Linked DNA regions of Homo sapiens: region 1 is linked to region 2. The links are contacts of gene promoters, found by promoter capture Hi-C in human tissues and cell types (Jung and others, 2019). All regions are on one chromosome and are shown on one strand. The core of a region is centred on a gene start or on the middle of the fragment in contact, and the rest is flanking DNA. Distances in the headings are between cores, read along the strand shown.

The links. The method cuts DNA at HindIII sites, captures the fragments that hold promoters and counts their contacts. A contact is called where the count stands out against the background at its distance.
Region 1: a contact is called between a fragment that was not itself captured here and the fragment with the promoter of TCTN1 in region 2, in 1 of the 25 tissues and cell types used here (H1 embryonic stem cells).

Annotation. Positions count from the first base shown.
Region 1 is chr12:110,575,200-110,580,023 of GRCh38, forward strand. The region is part of intron 1 of PPTC7 (protein phosphatase targeting COQ7); the gene reads right to left. Among named protein-coding and RNA genes, the nearest start is that of PPTC7, 5.7 kb to the right of the region's middle. RefSeq lists enhancers at 294-438, 4,455-4,704 and a cis regulatory region at 360-373. The HindIII fragment of the contact is 5,210 bases long and covers 1-3,994 here.
Region 2 is chr12:110,611,157-110,615,791 of GRCh38, forward strand. It overlaps TCTN1 (tectonic family member 1), which reads left to right and starts at 2,973. Exons shown (of 15, transcript NM_001082538.3): 1 at 2,973-3,246. The coding sequence starts at 3,027. RefSeq lists an enhancer at 3,250-3,299. The HindIII fragment of the contact is 11,470 bases long and covers 1-4,635 here.

The sequences.
Region 1 (4,824 bases), core at 140-2,639, 38 kb before region 2:
AAAAGTTAACAACTAATTTTGAAAGGCAAACTCACATTATTTTTCATAAACTAAAACTTCCAGTTTGAAAAGTCAAATTTCTTTAGAAATAAAATACTGCTAACTTACTTTTGCAAAGCATTTTCCTAAAACTTCTGAACCTAAAGCCCCAGGCAAGACCTCTCTCTAAAAGGCATGGGAACATAAAATGAATTTGACATTTAGCTTGAACTTAACTTTAGCATTTGAGCTACTCAAAGGACATGGTTGTAGGTCACATTCTAACCCGGTGTAGTGCTTCTGGTGTCACACACTAGTACAAACTCCATTTGGATACTGTTGCAACAATTCAGGTTATGTATTGCCCAGTTTCACAAACCAGTGCTAAAGTTCAGGGTACAGCCTCCTCCCATGCAGCAACCCCACCTCAAAAAAAAAAAAAAAAAAAAAAAAAAAAGCTCCACAACAGCTTGCATCTGTAATCTACCTTCTGCTACAATTTAAAACCTCCTTAATAAACAGTTATGCTTCTAAAATTCAATTACTTGCACTACAAAAGGATTCAACCAGAATCCTTTACAGAGACTGTTAACAAATCAAGAGATAAACTGTAAGTTAGGAAAATTTTAAACTAAGCTAGAAAATCTCAAAAGATTTGTGAACAAAGGAAAAGTAGCTCTGAAGCTATAACAAATGAAGAAATGACTTCAAAAATAAAGGTACCTTAATAAGTAACTTATAAAACTGCAACACACCTATATAGCAAAATGAGAAAAATACCAAGGAACAGAAGTTTAAAAAGCAAACAGCAAACCTCCTCTATCCATCAACCCTGTAATCTTATGTATTACAGAATGAAAGACCACTCAGAATAGTCAGAAAGCCACTAGTCAATGGCTTCCTAAACCCTGCTATTTCATTAGTCCTAGATGGCTCTTTTACTAAATCCACTCACACTTCCTTATTAATATTCCACAATTTTCTCTTGGAAGCACACAGCTCATTATGAAATCAGGCATATTTAAAGTACTGATTGATCTCAGAATTTATATATTTGATTGCTGCAATTTTTAAAGTATTTTCCCTTATATAAAATAATTATATGTATATTAATATTATATAGCTACATAAAAAAACAGCTATATTCCTCACAAAGTTAAACAGGGTTACAATATGACCCAGCAATTCTACTCCTAGGTATATATCCCCTCAAATTAAAAACATGTCCATACAAAAGCTTGCACACAAATGTGCACAGCACTATTCACAATAGCCAAAAGTAGAAACAACTCGATGGCCATCAACAGATGAATGGATCAACAAAATGTGGTATATAAATATAATGGAACATTATTCAGTCATAAAAAGGGAGGAAGTACTGACACATGCTCCAACATGGATGAACTCTGAAAACATGCTAAGGGAAAACATGCTAAGGAAAAGGCCACATATTACACGATCCATTTGTATGAAATGTCTCAAACACAAATCCACAGACAGAATCTGCTTTCTGTTGCCAGGGAGATGGGGAGTGACTGCTAATGGATAGGGGGTTTCTTGGGGGGTGATGAAAAACATTCTGGAACTAGATAGTGGCAGTGGCTGTACAACTTTGTGAATGTAAAAACTACTGAACTGTACACTTTAAAAGGATACATGCTATGGAATGTGAATTATACATATCAGTTTTTAAAAATTCACTCAAGGGGCTGGGCACGTGGTTCACGCCTGTAATCCCAGCACTTTGGGAGGCCAAGGCAGGTGGATCACCTGAGGTCAGGAGTTCGAGACTAGCCTGGCCAACATGGTGAAACCCCGTCTCTACTAAAAATATAAAAATTGGCCAGGTGTAATGGTGGGTGCCTGTAATCCCAGCTACTTGGGAGGCTGAGGCAGAAGAACTGTTTGAACCCAGGAGGCAGAGGTTGCAGTGAGCCAAGATCGCGCCACTGCTCTCCAGCCTGGGCACAAGGGCGAGACTCTGTCTCAAAAAAAAAAAAAAAAAAAAAATTCACTCAGGGTCATATTTGCTATCAACAGGTAGATGATGCTGGAATCTGACTTTAAGAAAATTATGGCATGTCCTGCACATGTATCCTGGAATTTAAAAAAAGTAAAATTAAAAAAAAAAAGAAAAAAAAATTATGGTAATATAATGAGAGTGGTGTCCTGACATGGCTTGAAATCTAGCTGAGGAAAATTCCAACAAGGACTTCTTGAAAGACTGAAGTCAGTGGGTGCACACACACACTCTGAAGGTGACTACTTTTTTAAAAGGACAACTCACTTTCAGAATAGAGGTTCTATAAGTACATTAAAATGATCATGACTGTTTGAAAACACCAAATTCTACCTCATCCATTCACTTCCTAAATATAATTTAGATCTTAATTTTGTTCATATGATCTTTACACCTCAAGACAACTACTTTTAAGACTGACATTACTCACAAAAACACTTCAAAATCCTGACCACGATCAAAATCAGATCCAAAGGCTGGGATATGAAATTATTTTAATTTCACTTTTAGGTTTCAAGTTTAAGCTTAAATAAACATCCCACAGTTTCATAATAAATACTTTACAACTCAATATTCAGAGGTCAAAATTTATATGGCACAGACCAGGCTGCCATTTTTAAAATAAGTGGTTTCTCTAAACTGTGGTTTAGCATGCAGAGGAGTTTTTGTTGCACATCAGTTATGAGTCAGAGTGAATAAAGAAGTTATAAACACACACACACACACACCCAGGAAAAGCATTCGAAGCACAAAAGTATCAGGAGACTGACTGGTTTTTAATTCACATATATCATCAAGAAAACTTGACCAGTGGTCTAACGGGGACAGGACTGGGAAAGGGAGTCTCAGATGAGAGACTGAGATAGGTGTCAGCCTCAGTTCCACCAATAACTAGTAGAGTAACCTTGGGGAAGTCATCTGACTCTCTGGAGGCCTGTTTTCTCATCAGTGAGGTGAAAAAAACTAGACTCCAAGGTTTCTAAGTGTTACAATTCTCAACAGTCTTTGATTCTATTGTTAAGTAGCATAAGGCTGTGGGAAGCCCAGGTATTACAACATGCAGTTCTCATATTTTTGTGCACCTAGGAAGCCATGCCACGTAGAGTAATAAGAGAACTCAGAATTAGCCACAGGGAAGAAGGAACAAGAAAAGTGTACACGGCTCCCGCTAGTACTGGTTTACTCCTGTTGGACCTAGTAAAGAGAAAGCACCTTTGACAATTTTCTAGAGAATGATAGGAGTGGTTCCTATGTCTCACCACACCCAACATAGTCAGTTTTTCCGAAACGAAATACAGTGGGGACTATACAAAATGTTGTGAAGCACCAAGCACTATTAGTCACTGCATGACTAATAGGACAGATCAATTTTAAATTAAAGAAACAAAAGAGATTTCTCTTTCTCATATAAAAAGAAAGAAACAGCTTTCATTCCAGTCAAGGAGTCCTAGATGACCACAGTGAATAATCTGTTACACGGATACTCAGTAATAAATATGGTGTCAATTCAAAGAAAATTAATTATCTACAGAACCAAAAGGTTCAAAAGCACTTAAGTTCAACGTAACGTTATTACTCAACATAGCCTTTTAATGTAATTCAGGTTGTAACTCCAACCTCTAGAGTTGACAGCAGTATTAAAGAGTCATTCAAAGTCATCACCTTAGCCAGACACTGTGGCTCACACCTGTAATCCTAGCACTTTGGGAGGCTGAGGCAGGTGGATGACATGAGGTCAGGAGTTCGACACCAGCCTAGGCAACGTGGCGAAACCTCATCTCTACTAAAAAAATACAAACAATTAGCCGGGTGAGGTGGCACATGCCTGTAGTCCCAGCTACTCGGAAGGCTGAGGCACAAGAATCGCTTGAAGCTGGGAGGCAGAGGTTGCAGCGAGCCAAAATCGTGCCACTGCACTCCAGCCTGGGTGGCAGAGCAAGACTCTATCTCAAAAAAAAAAAAAAGTCATCACCTTTTACGGTATCAACTAAATAGAAGTCACCATCATATGAACTGGTTCAGGACAGCCAAGGATCAAATGAGGCCAACTCATGAAGTTATTTCAGGTGGCTTCCAAGACTGCCGTCCGGAAGAGCTCCTCCACAACAGGACAGTCCTGGAGAACCTGTCCTTCACTGCCCCTATCCCCCACCATTTGCATATGTGCATGCTTGATCTTTGTCAAACATGGCTAACAACCACCTTTTGGTCACATCAGCTACCAGTATCTGACTGTGTCTGCTGGCATTCCCTTCAAGGGTACAGAGCTGGGGTTCTTGATCTGATTCCTATGCATGGACCTCCAGGTGGTATCAGAGGAGTCATGGAGTCAGCAAAGTTCCTAAGAGCCCATGCAAAATTTTATCTCTGTGCACAGGGTCCTGATCCTCAGGGGTTGTGAATCAAGGAAAGCTAAAAACCACTGGTTTAGTGCTACATACAAAACAGGAATCTACTGAAGGTGCCCGTGACACCTGTCATTTGAGGTGCAGAACAAAGGGTGCCATCTATTCAAAGCAAAAGTAAAATATGGGCTGGGCGCGGTGGTTCATGCCTGTAATCCCAGCAGTTTGGGAGGCCGAGGCTGGTGGATCACCTGGGGTTAGGAGTTCGAGTACAGCCTGGCCAACATGATGAAACCCCGTTTGTACTAAAAATACAAAAATTAGCCGGGCGTGATGGCGCGCGCCTGTAATCCCAGCTACTCAGGTGGCTGAGGCAGGGGAATCACTTAAACCCGGGAGGCGGAGGTTGCAGTGAGCCGAGATGGCGCCATTGCACTCCAGCCTGGGCAACAAGAGCGAAACTCCATACCCGCACCCCCC
Region 2 (4,635 bases), core at 1,723-4,222:
TCCTCATTCAGAGTCAAATATCATAAAATTACTTTGGGGCCATCTACCACGTGTTTGTTTGAGATTGGACAAAAGAGGCGGTGAAATTGGCAAATCATATCATAGCAGGTCCTGGTTGGAATAATGGGATATCAGACTTGAAGAGGACCTCAGAGGTCCTATAACCATAACAAAAATTATAAAACTGGATGGGAGTGGTGGCTTACGCCTGTAATCCCAGCACTTTGGGAGGCCAAGGTGGGCGGATCACTTGAGGTCAGGAGTTCAAGAACAGCCTGGCCAATATGGTGAAACCCCGTCTCTACTAAAAATACAAAAATTGGCTGGGCTTGGTGGCAGGTGCCTATAATCCCAGCTACTTGGGAGGCTGAGGCAGGAGAATCACTTGAACCTGGAAGGCAAAGGTTGCACTGAGCCGGGATCCTGCTACTGCACTCTAGCCTGGGTGACAGAGTGAGACTCCATCTCAAAAAAAAAAAAAAATTATAAAGCTAAAGGATGAGTTATCAAAATTTAATCCAGCAGTCTAAAATTTCAAAACAGAAAATAGAACAAAATGGTTCACAGGTATTAAGGAATAGGAAAGAAAGTAGAGGGCTGGAAGTAAAGAGGTTTAAAAAGGAAAACAAACAGGCCCTGGTTTTAGAAGTTATGAGATGAAGGTTTGGAAAATATACTTTTTTTTTTTTTTTGAGACGGAGTCTCGCTGTGTCACCAGGCTGGAGTGCAGCGGTGTGATCTCGACTCACTGCAACCTCTGCCTCCCAGGTTCAAGCAGTTATCCCGCCTCAGCCTCCTGAGTAGCTGGGACTACAGGTGCCCACCACCATGCTCAGCTAATTTTTGTATTTTTAGTAAAGACGGGGTTTCACCATGTTGGCCAGGGTGGTCTTGATCTCTTGACCTCGTGATCCACCCGCCTCAGCCTCCCAAAGTGCTGGGATTACAGGCGTGAGCCACCATGCCCGGCCTACTTTTGGTTATTTTTTTTAAAAGGGGAAGCATTTAATCAGTTATTAAAAGCAGTCCAGAATTTCAGTCAGATGCTAAAGCAATCCTTTGCAGAAAAAAAGAAGTATCTGTCTTACACATTTGAGTGATTCAATTATATTTTTATACACTGTCTCTGGAATGCCACAGGAAGGTGCTAAAGATATCACTTTGATGATTTAGTTTTGCTAAATACATTTAATAAACTAGATATATATACTGTTTGACATCCTTTTGAATTGGTATATACATTTCTTGAATAAATACTGTGTTATGTTTAAGGTTTTTTTGTTTTGGAGTGCAGTGGCACTATCATGGCTTACTGCAGCCTCAAGCTCTCCAGACTGAGGCGATCCTTCCACCTCAGCCTCCTGAGTAGCTGGGACTACAGGAATGTGCCACCATACCTGGCTAATTTTTGTATTTTTTGTAGAGATGTGGTTTCACCATGTTGCCCAGGCTGGTCTCAACTCCTGGACTCAAGCGATCCTCCCAAAGGGCTGGGAGTACAGGTGTGAGCCACTGTGCCTGGCCACGTCTAAGTACTTCGACATCTACTTCTGAACTGTATGGAGATTAAGTGTCAAAGGTGCAGCCAACATTCTTGGGCTTGGGTACCTCCTAAATAAGCCCATTCAGAATGGAGAGGGTTTCCTAAATCGTAGGGTCTCCAGGTCGTTTTGTAGCATTACAGTGGATTTGCTTTGTTTTCCCCTTTAAGATGTCTAAATTATTTTACTTAATTTTTGTAAAAGATTTTTGTCTTTAAATAGGTTCTTAGGCCTGGCGTGGTGGCTCATGCCTGTAATCCTAGCTCTTTGGGAGGCTGAGGCGGGAGGATCACTTGAGGCCAGGAGTTTGTGACTAGCCTGATCAACATAGTGAGACCCCCTCTCTACAAAAAATAATAAAAGGTATTAAGTGTTCATTTGTCCCCTTTATCACAATACAGCAGACAGAAGTTATCTGGCAACCTTGTGAGATGCAGCTAAAATAAAAAGGTGAAGCCAGTGTTGACAGAGTCTGGGATAGAGAAAATTCAGAGACAGTGATCTCACAGATCCCTGTGCTCCTTCCAAACACCCACGTTAGTGGCGTTGGGACGGCGCTTCCTAAATTTCCGTCCAACTCATCTGCTTGCGTCCGGACATTTGTTAAAAATATTTATTCCTGGCTGGGAGTGGTGGCTCACGCCTGTAATCCCAACTACTCAGGACTCAGGAGGCTGGAGCAGGTGGATCACTTGAACCAGGAGTTCGATACCAGTCCGGGCGACGGAGGGAGACCTCGTCTTTACAAAAAAAAAAAAAAAAAAAAAAAAATACAAAAATTAGCTGGGTATGGTGGCGCGCGCCTGAGTTCCCAGCTACTCAGGAGGCTGAAGTGGGAGGATTGCTTGAGTCCCAGAGGTCGAGGCTGCAGTGAGCCGAGATCGCGCTACTGCACTCCAGCCTGGGCGACAGAGTGAGACCCTGTCTCAAAAAAAATCCCCCAAAAACTGATTCCTGGGTCCTGCCCTAGACTAACTGACTCAGGATCTCCTGAGGTGGTACCTGGAAATCCGTCTTTTTTTTTTTTTTTTTTTTTTTTGGTTGAGACAGAGTGTCACACTGTCGCCCAGGCTGGAGTGCAGTGGCACGCTCACGGCTCTCTGTAGCCTTCACCTCCCGGGTTCAAGCGATTCTTCTGCCTCAGCCTCCCGAGTAGCTGGAACTACAGAAAATCTGCATTTTTTAAGCAAGCGCCGCGGACCGGTTGGAAACCACAGCCGGGATTTACACGCCCCTCGTTTACGCCAGCTTCACACCCGCTCACTAGTGCTCGCCCCTGTGCCTGCCATCGCTGCCTCACCCAGGCGCCGCCCTCCGGCCTCATCCGGGATCCGCCCCCTGCCTCATCCAGGCTTCGCCCCAGTCAGTCTCCGGCAGCTTCTCGCGGCTTCGCAAGCCCCTTCCCGTGATGCCCCGCGCCTGGCTGTCGCGGTTGCCGGGCAACGCGCTGTCCATGTCGCGGGCCTCGCTGGGACTCCCTGGGAGATGAGGCCGCGAGGTCTCCCGCCGCTCCTGGTGGTGCTCCTGGGCTGCTGGGCCTCCGTGAGCGCCCAGACCGATGCCACCCCGGCGGTGACGACAGAGGGCCTCAACTCCACCGAGGCAGCCCTGGCCACCTTCGGAACTTTCCCGTCGACCAGGCCCCCCGGGACTCCCAGGGCTCCAGGGCCCTCCTCCGGCCCCAGGCCTACCCCAGTCACGGACGGTGGGTACCATGTGCCAGCTCCTGGAGTCCACAGTGATCCAACCTCAAGGGGACAGCCCCGGTGAGGACGTAATAATGATAGCTAACTCTTATTGAGCACTTACTGTGTGCAGACACTGCTGAGTGTTCCATAAACGTCCATTCTCTAAACAATAACCCTGAGAAGTAGCTGTTACTATCACTGTCAGGTAAATGAGAAAACCGGGTCTCAGAGTTTAAGTGGAACGGTATCAAACCTTTGAAAATACTTGAAGTGGTCCCAGACAACAGTGATGCAAAGAGCAATAATGAATTCTTGCAGCCCAAGACGAAATTAAGTCGAGACAATGGTGGAAATTAGTGCCTTGGCTGCACTGAACTTTCACTTAAAGAGAGGCCAAAGGTCTATCTTACTAAATGTGACTATGTTAAGACCCTTCTCTGTTGACCTGAATTCTAAAAACCCAGGATTCCTCCTGTGTTGAATTGGAGGTGGAAAGCTATTGAGGGAGGGGTTATGCTCACTTCTTAGGAGTCATATGTAGGGATAATTAACATTTTTTTCAGAAAATGATTAATTCTAGAATTACACATTTAGTGGAAATATTTTATAATCTAATTTGACGTTTGGCTGGCGCCGTGGCTCACGCCTGTAATCCCAGCACTTTGGGAGGTCAACTCGGGTGGATTGCTTGAGGTAGGAGTTCAAGATCAGTCTGGTCAAAATGGCGAAACCCAGTCTCTACTAAAAATAGAAAAAATAGCCGGGCATGGTGTAATCCTAGCTACTCGGGAGGCTGAGGCAGGAGACTCGCTTGAACCCAGGAGGCAGAGGTTGCAGTAATTACCACTGCACTCCAGACTGGGCGACAGAGCAAGACTGTCTCAAAAAAAAAAATTGACATGGATGACTTCACTGAATGACTGTGACCCGCTAAGATTGAGTGCAAAACTTTGTGAATATGCCTTTTCCTGAGATGAGAGTTCATAGCAGCCGATTCTTAAAGTGGTTCATGATCTCAAAAAAAGTTTTTAAAATTTTCCGATTGTGTGAATTGAGAGTAACCCCAATAGATATGCAGTACTTTTAATCTTTTTTTATTCTTTTTTTGTTTTTGAGACAAGGTCTCGCTCTGTTACCCAGGCTGGAGTGCAGTGGCGTGATTATATCTCACTTAAGTCTCAATCTGCTGGGCTCAAGGGATCCTTCTGCCTCAGCCTCCAGAGTAGCTGGAACCACAGGCGTGCTCCCCCAGCTTGCTTTTTTTATTTTTTTATTTTTAGTAGAGATGAGATCTCGCTATGTTGTTCAGGCTGATCTCAAACTCCTGGGCTCAAGTGATCCTCCCACCTTGGCCTTCCAAAGTGCTGGGATTACAGGTGTAAACAACTGTGCCCAGCCTATCCCTT